Regions from separate parts of the Homo sapiens genome. Here region 1 is linked to region 2. Evidence: promoter capture Hi-C in 16 types of primary human blood cells and fetal thymus (Javierre and others, 2016). All regions are on one chromosome and are shown on one strand. The core of a region is centred on a gene start or on the middle of the fragment in contact, and the rest is flanking DNA. Distances in the headings are between cores, read along the strand shown. Region 1 overlaps SMARCD2 (SWI/SNF related BAF chromatin remodeling complex subunit D2). Region 2 holds the start of DCAF7 (DDB1 and CUL4 associated factor 7).

The links. Contacts are between HindIII fragments. The CHiCAGO score rates a contact against its expected background, and 5 or more counts as called.
Region 1: a fragment that was not itself captured here is called in contact with the fragment with the promoter of DCAF7 in region 2 in 1 of 17 cell types (neutrophils); the score reaches 5.8 in neutrophils.

What each region holds. Positions count from the first base shown.
Region 1 is chr17:63,833,251-63,837,283 of GRCh38, reverse strand. It overlaps SMARCD2 (SWI/SNF related BAF chromatin remodeling complex subunit D2), which reads left to right. Exons shown (of 13, transcript NM_001098426.2): 3 at 47-89; 4 at 240-362; 5 at 1,717-1,872; 6 at 2,484-2,579; 7 at 2,709-2,810; 8 at 2,956-3,117; 9 at 3,278-3,375; 10 at 3,562-3,697; 11 at 3,864-3,986. Among named protein-coding and RNA genes, the nearest start is that of SMARCD2, 7.4 kb to the left of the region's middle. RefSeq lists an enhancer at 2,082-2,241. The HindIII fragment of the contact is 2,098 bases long and covers 1,731-3,828 here.
Region 2 is chr17:63,547,899-63,551,778 of GRCh38, reverse strand. It overlaps DCAF7 (DDB1 and CUL4 associated factor 7), which reads right to left and starts at 1,302. Exons shown (of 7, transcript NM_005828.5): 1 at 964-1,302. The coding sequence starts at 1,101. It also overlaps a transcript of KCNH6 not described here. RefSeq lists silencers at 809-958, 979-1,028 and enhancers at 1,179-1,258, 1,699-2,088, 1,388-2,372. The HindIII fragment of the contact is 8,271 bases long and covers 495-3,880 here.

The DNA of each region.
Region 1 (4,033 bases), core at 1,530-4,029, 280 kb before region 2:
CTTTTTTGGACCATTGACCTCTTAAGTGGGTTTCTGTCCTCCCCAGGTTAAAGAGGAGGAAGATGGCAGATAAGGTTCTACCTCAGCGAGTAAGTGTTAAGAGGACACCTGGGAGGCCTGCCCAGTGGCCACCTTGGGGTGGGTGTCCATCTCTCTCAAAGCTGGGCTGCAGCAGGAAGGGAGGAAAGAGCCAGGCTTTGGCTGAAGCAAGCTGATGAGCTTCTGCTACCTTCCTTCAGATCCGGGAGCTTGTTCCAGAGTCTCAGGCGTACATGGATCTCTTGGCTTTTGAGCGGAAGCTGGACCAGACCATTGCTCGCAAGCGGATGGAGATCCAGGAGGCCATCAAAAAGCCTCTGACAGTATGTGTGGCCCTGACCACCTCTAGCCTTCCCAGGTTTCCTTGCCTTCCACCCCCTTGTTTTCCAGGGGCCAAGCAAGTTGGGCTAGAGCCGGGTTTTTCACATGCAGGATGCAGCCCACTAGTAGAGTACGAACTCAGTTGAATGTGTTGGGGCCAGTATGTTTTAAATGAATATATGACAGTAGAAAATCTTAAAATACTTCACAGTAGTACTTACCATAGTAGTAAATGGATTCTTTCATGACATTTTTGTTTCTGATAAATAGATATGCAGACCTTGGGTCATAATTGAAAATGTAAATCTTATGGGTGGTGGTCAAAAGTTTGAAAACCACTAGACTAGGGGATAAAGGTAGTTCCTTTCTCCTTCCCCTTCCCCATCCATAGAGAAATTTTCTTTTTTTTTTTTTTTTTTTTTTCTGAGATGGAGTCTCGCTCTTTCACCTAAGCTGGAGTGCAGTGTTGCGATCTCGGCTCACTGCAACCTTCGCATCCCAGGTTCAAGTAATTCTTCTTGCCTCAGCCTCCCGAGTAACTAGGATTACAGATGCCTGTCACCACGCCCGGCTAATTTTTGTATTTTTAGTATCGCCATGTTACCCAGGCTGGTCTCGAACTCCTGACTGCCTCGGCCTCCCAAAGTGCTGAGATTACAGGCGTGAGCCACTGCACCCAGCCGAGAAGCTTTTCTTAATAATAATGTAGAACAGTCCCGAGTGGTGAAGCCTTTCCAGGGGACTAGGATATTTTGGAGCCGTGATGGGTGTTTGGGTTTCATGTAAGATGTGAGCCAGAGACTGGCTGCGTGTTACTCCATCATGCCGTAGCACCAGTCCCACTGTGCTGGCATTGTTGGTGATGCATCTCTTTCCCCATAAAATGGTGAGTTCCGGCCAGGTGCGGTGGCTCACACCTGTAATCTCAGCACTTTAGGAGGCCGAAGTGGGCAGATCACCTGAGGTCAGGAGTTTGAGACCAGCATGGCCAACATGTTGAAATACCATCTTTACAAAAACACAAAAAATTAGCTGGGCATGGTGGTGCGCACCTGTAGTCCCAGCTACATGGGAGACTGAGGCAAGAGAATCGCTTGAACCTGGGAGTCAGAGGTTGCAAGTGAGCTGAGATCGCGCCACTGCACTCCAGCCTGGGTGACAGAGTGAGACCATGTCTAAAAAAAAAAAAGGCTGGGACTGGGACTTACTACTTCTGATTCCCAGTACCTGACAAGGTGCCTGGCTGGCTCATGGTGCTCAGTACTGATTGTTGAATGGTTCATATGAGAAGATGCGGTAGCACTGTGTCCCAGCATCTTGGTCCACCTCCAGTTGTGATTGCCTTTCTCTCTTTAGCAAAAGCGAAAGCTTCGGATCTACATTTCCAATACGTTCAGTCCCAGCAAGGCGGAAGGCGATAGTGCAGGAACTGCAGGGACCCCTGGGGGAACCCCAGCAGGGGACAAGGTGGCTTCCTGGGAACTCCGAGTGGAAGGAAAACTGCTGGATGATGTGAGTTGGGGAGGGAGGTTCTGGAGGGAAGGAGGCCTGTGTGGGTTTAAGACTGAGACCAAGGAGTTTGATACTAGCCTGAGCAGCAGAGCCAGACCCCATCTCTACAAAAAATTTAAAAATTAGCTGGGTGCGGTGGCATGCACCTGTAGTCCCAGCTACTCATAAGGCTGATGCAGGAGGATGGCTTGAGCCCAGGAGGTCGAGCTTCAGTGAGTTATGATCACACCACTGCACTTCAGCCTGGGTGACAGAGTGAGATTGTGTCTCAGAAAAAAAAAGACTGGGCCAGACACTTGGGCGCTCCCAGAGAAGTCCTGCCATAGGGAGGGGGGCGCTGCTCCAAGCCCGTTGGAGGTTGATTTGTGTGGTTATTACAGTGTTCCTGCAGATGGCAGTCGAGTGTCTCGAGGAAGTCCCTCGTGGGCTGCAAGAGGGCACCATTTCCCTGCCTCCAGTCTGCCCAGAGTCCTGCTTCCATCCTTCAGGGCCCAGGAATCTTCAGTATCCGGAGCTCCAGGGCTGAAATGGGGCTTCTCTTTCTTGGGATTTAGCATAGCTTGAGATTTGAGAGCTCAGCAGCACCATCTCACACCCCTTTCCATCCCCAGCCTAGCAAACAGAAGAGGAAGTTTTCTTCATTCTTTAAGAGCCTCGTCATTGAGCTGGACAAGGAGCTGTACGGGCCTGACAATCACCTGGTGGAGGTGAGAGTGGGCCTGGGGCAAAAGCAGGCTGATGTGCAGGTTTGGCAGGGAAATGGCCTCAGGGCCCTTGGGAGGCCCTGTGTTCACGCCCACCCCCTTGGTGATAAGCCATGCTTCCCTCCCTGCCAGTGGCACCGGATGCCCACCACCCAGGAGACAGATGGCTTCCAAGTAAAACGGCCTGGAGACCTCAACGTCAAGTGCACCCTCCTGCTCATGCTGGATCATCAGGTGACAGAGACCCTGGGGTCATTTCTGGGCCCACAGGGACCCCTCAGGAGGGGAGCTGGTTCCTAGAAACCCTTCCTGTCCCTGCCCTATTTTCCCACTGTTCTACTATAAGAACCCGTTCTGACTCCCCTCCATCCAACTCCAGCCTCCCCAGTACAAATTGGACCCCCGATTGGCAAGGCTGCTGGGAGTGCACACGCAGACGAGGGCCGCCATCATGCAGGCCCTGTGGCTTTACATCAAGCACAACCAGCTGCAGGATGGGCACGAGCGGGAGTACATCAACTGCAACCGTTACTTCCGCCAGGTTAGCCAGATGCCAGCCCCCGTTTTCTCAGCCCTTGCTTTGCCTTGCCTGCTGGGCTACTCCTTGGCCACAGCCTGCAGACTGCTGCCCTCACTGGTCCTGGAATGGTCCACTCCACTGTGCCCACAAGCCAACGCTGAGCCTTTCGTATTTCCTCCAGATCTTCAGTTGTGGCCGACTCCGTTTCTCCGAGATTCCCATGAAGCTGGCAGGGTTGCTGCAGCATCCAGACCCCATTGTCATCAACCATGTCATTAGGTAAATGCAAGGAGGGGGACAGGAAGGCTCTTCTAAGAGCAGATTCACCCTTGGCTTGAACTAAAGCCAAAGAAAGCATCAGGTTTCTTTTTCCCTGAGTGTGTGCAGAGAATGGGCCCCAGATTTGGCCCAGGTGGGCAGGATGAAGTCAGCTATGTGCCTTCCCTCCCCATGTGCTGCCTGCAGTGTCGACCCTAACGACCAGAAGAAGACAGCCTGTTACGACATCGATGTGGAGGTGGACGACCCACTGAAGGCCCAAATGAGCAATTTTCTGGCCTCTACCACCAATCAGCAGGAGATCGCCTCCCTTGATGTCAAGGTGGGCCCTCTGGCTCCACAGCTTCCTCTGGGGCCCAGGATTGGGGTGGGCTGGCTCTGTCCAGCATTTCCATACATGTAGCACCTGGAGGACGGGATGGGAACTCTGGCTCAGTTGCTTGCATGTAAGCTTTGGGGGCACAGTCTGACACAGGTACCCTCTCCAGATCCATGAGACCATTGAGTCCATCAACCAGCTGAAGACCCAGAGAGATTTCATGCTCAGTTTTAGCACCGACCCCCAGGACTTCATCCAGGAATGGCTCCGTTCCCAGCGCCGAGACCTCAAGGTGTAGTCCTCTTTCCCGAGGGGACTCCTATGTAAAGCTCTGGGTGA
Region 2 (3,880 bases), core at 53-2,552:
CACCGCGCCCGGCCAGTTTTACTCTTCTTAAATCTGATGTTCATGGCATAAAGCAGGAGTAGTGGCTTTAAATATCACTAGCCACAGCTTTCAGTTGCTCTGATCGCTATCATTCACAACTTTGAGTAAAAGGAAGAAAGAAAATTCTTCCAACTGACTTATTCAACTTTCAAAAATGAGTTTGTTGCAATGCCAGTTTAAAAGCTCCCCTACTACACCGTGCTTCTATAAAGGATTCTCAAATTGATGTATGTCCAGCAAGACTTACTACTAAAGGTCACACAACTGTACTAGCACGAAACAAGCCAAGAGATAAGGCCCTGTCATCCTTCTGTGTTCAGGAAACAACGGCGGGATCATGCCACAGGCCAAGATTTCCAAAGAGATTGCTTTAGAGAGAATGGATATCAGGAAGCAAGAGCAACAGTAATTCTGGCAGAAGGGCTAGGATCCATGAGTACCCGGGGGGGGTGGGAGTAGGGGGCGGGGAAGCTTGTACAATAGATCGTCTTAATAGAAATCTAGTGTGGCCAGGAGTGCACGACCACCAATAGAAGCGCCTGCATTTTCCTTCACAGCTATCACTCTCTCTTCCCTTCCCCGCCCACCAACGAAAGCAATGCGGCAGGAGTGGAGAGCACGGGATGAATAAATGGAGTATCTTTGGGGCGTAAACCCGGTTTTAAGACCTGTTTCCACCCCGAAATAGCTGCCTGACCCAGGCAAGTCACAAAACCGTGCCTCAGTTTCCCCACTACACTGCCGACTACACAAGAATGCTGCCTGGATTAAAGGAGACAGACAACGAGTACGAAACCTTCAGCACAGGGCCAGACAGAGGAACCGCTCCGTGGCCCTAGGGCGAGTCCGCAAGAGGGTTCTGAGGCCTGGGCTCCGGCCCGGAAAGGGCGCTCCCGGGGCCCGCTCCCCGCCAGCTGGGTTCCGAGCCCCTGCCCGGCCCACCTTGTTGTTGTACTCCTCCACGAAGCTGCCCAGCGCCAAGCGAAAGCGCTTATCGGGCCGCACACTCCAGTTCATCGCGTAGACTGTCCAGGGCGCTTCATACTTGTAGATCTCCTTCCGTTTGCCGTGCAGGGACATGGTGGCCACGGGGCCGCAGTACGGGCCGGGTCAACAGTGGGCTGCGGCGGGCGGGGAGCCGAGCCTGAGATCTATGGGTCCGAAGGGAGGAGAGGAGGGGGCGGGCAGGAACGGCCTAACCCGGAAGCGGGGATGCGGCGACAAACAACGACGACGGCCGAGCCCGACCCCTAGTTTCAAACCAGCTTGGGAACGGACGACAACCACCTTCCGTTTTGGGACGCCGCCCCGCCCTCTCGGAACGGAAGCCGCCGGACCCCCGCAGCGGCACCGGCCGTTGGTTGCCTGACACGTCCTTTCGAAAGGATTCTTTCTTGTCATTGGTTATTGCGGCCGTAGCGTCTGAAATCTCCTCGCTATTGGGTTAAATGTTTGTCATTGCAACTACTCGCCCCGCCCAACTCTCGGAGGCAGGCGCTTTGGCAGCCCCAAAGGTCATTGGTTGGCCAAGATGTCAGTCAGGCAGATAACGGCTCAGTGCGGGTGGTGGGGGCGTGGGTGGCCTGGAGGCGAGCGTGCTGTAGCAGCGGGCCTCCAAGTTCTAGGCCAAGTCTCTGAGAGTGAAACCGTCTGTGACCTGCGCTGACTTCCCCTCCGCTGCTGCTGTTCTGAGCGGCCTCTCCACGCTGTCGAGTAAAAGTACAATTCTGCCTTAGTGGAAGACCTACTGACTTTCGCGGGACAGAGCCCTGCGGCCTGGCAGCCTGGCCTGCGCCCAACGGGTACCACCTTCCCGCCCCATCTCTTCCCAGGGCCCTTTTAACCCGAAAGCTGCTCTCTCCGTGCCTCAGGGACAGGCTTCGGGCGCGCAGATGCGCTCAGGGCCAGGCCAGCTTGAGTCAGGCCCTCCCGCGCTTTCCTGCAGGATCTAGAAATGTCCCCGAATTCTGGGGTAGGCACCGACCCGACCAGCTTGGCTCTGTTTTTGTCAGTTCCCATCCTGTACCCTTCCCGCCGTGGATCCCAACGCAAATGCTAATCCAGCCCCAAAGGTATCTGTGCCTGTGAGTTGGAAAAGGGGAAGGGCCAGAGACCAAATGACACCTTTATATAAATTATTTCCAATTCTCAGCTTTCATCAAAATTGAAGGAGGTTTGTATTGAATTGTTGGATGATAACATTAAATACTTTTTTTTTTTTTTTTTAAAGACAGGGTCTTGCCCTGTCACCCAGGCTGGAGTGCACTGGTGTGATAAGGGCTCACTGTAGCCTGGACTGCCTAGGTTCAAACGATTCCCCCACTTTAGCCTCTGGAGTAGCTGGAACCACAGACATTTGCCACCACACCTAGCTATTTTTAAATTATTATTTGTAGAGATGAGATCTCTCCATGTTGCCCAGGCTGATCTCGAACTCCTGGGCTCAAGCGATCCTCCCACATCAGCATCCTAAAGTACTGGGATTACAGGCTTGAGCCACCATTCTGGGCACTAAATATAATTTTTAATGATAAATGATTTTTCCACCTCCCAGGTTCAAGTGATTCTCCTGCTTCAGCCTCCCGAGTAGCTGAGATTACAGGGGTGCACCACCACAGCCAGCTAATTTTTGTATTTTTAGTAGAGATGGGGTTTCACCATGTTGGCCATTCTGGTGTCGAACTCCTGACCTCAAATGATCTTCCAGCCTCGGCCTCCCAAAGTGTTGGGATTACAGGCGTGAGCCACCGCATCTGGCCAAGAAATCCTCTTTTTTTTTTAATTTTATTTTATTTTTGAGATGGAGTCTCACTCTGTCGCCCGGGCTGTAGTGCAGTGGCACTATCTCGGCTCACTGCAACCTCTGCCTTTAGGGTTCAAGTGATTCTCTTGCTTCAGCCTCCTGAGTAGCTGGGATTACAGGCGCCCGCCACCATGCCCAGCTAAAGGAAATCCCCTGTAAGGAGGAAAGTTTAAAAACAAATTTAAAAAGGAAAGAAAAAGACGTACAAAATTCGCGGTACCTTGTCTTATTCTAATAAAAAATAATGATATTTATCCACAGATATAGGAACTAACGGGGGGAGGAAATTTTCTCTTTTATGACGTATATTTCCAATAAAATTTTAGTTTTTATTAGAAAATTGAATATATATTTATGTTGTTTTGAACAACTGTACTACTAATAGATGTAACCCTTAAAGCCTTATTAAGGTTACAAAAATTAATTTTAAAATGTCAATTAATTTATACACATTCGTTTTGAGGCAGGGTCTTGCTCTGTTATCCAGGTGGTGGTGCAGTGGGGCAAACAGTGCTTATTGCAGCCTTGACCTCCCGGGCTCAAGCAATCCTCCTGCCTCCTTTATTTTTTGTAGAGACAAGATCTTGCTATGTTGCCCAGGCTGGGTTCAACTGGTCCTCCCACCTCAGCCTCCCAAAATGCTGGGATTATAGGCATGAGCCACCCCATGACCGACCTACTTTTTTTTTGAAACGGAGTCTTGCTCTGTTGCCCACGCTGGAGTGCAGTGGCACGATCTTGGCTCACTACAAGCTCCACCTCCTGGGTTCACGCCATTCTCCTGCCTCAGCCTCCCGAGTAGCTGGGACTACAGGCACCTGCCACCACGCCTGGCTATTTTTTTTGTATTTTTAGTAGAGATGGGGTTTCACCCTGTTAGCCAGGATGGTCTTGATCTCCTGACCTCGTGATCTGCCCACCTCAGCCTCCCAAAGTGCTGGGATTACAGGTGTGAGCCACTGCGCCCAGCCACTTTTTTTTTTTTTTTTAAGAGACCGAGTCTTGCTCTGTTACCCGGGCTGGAGTACAGTTGCATGAACATGGCTTACTGCAGTC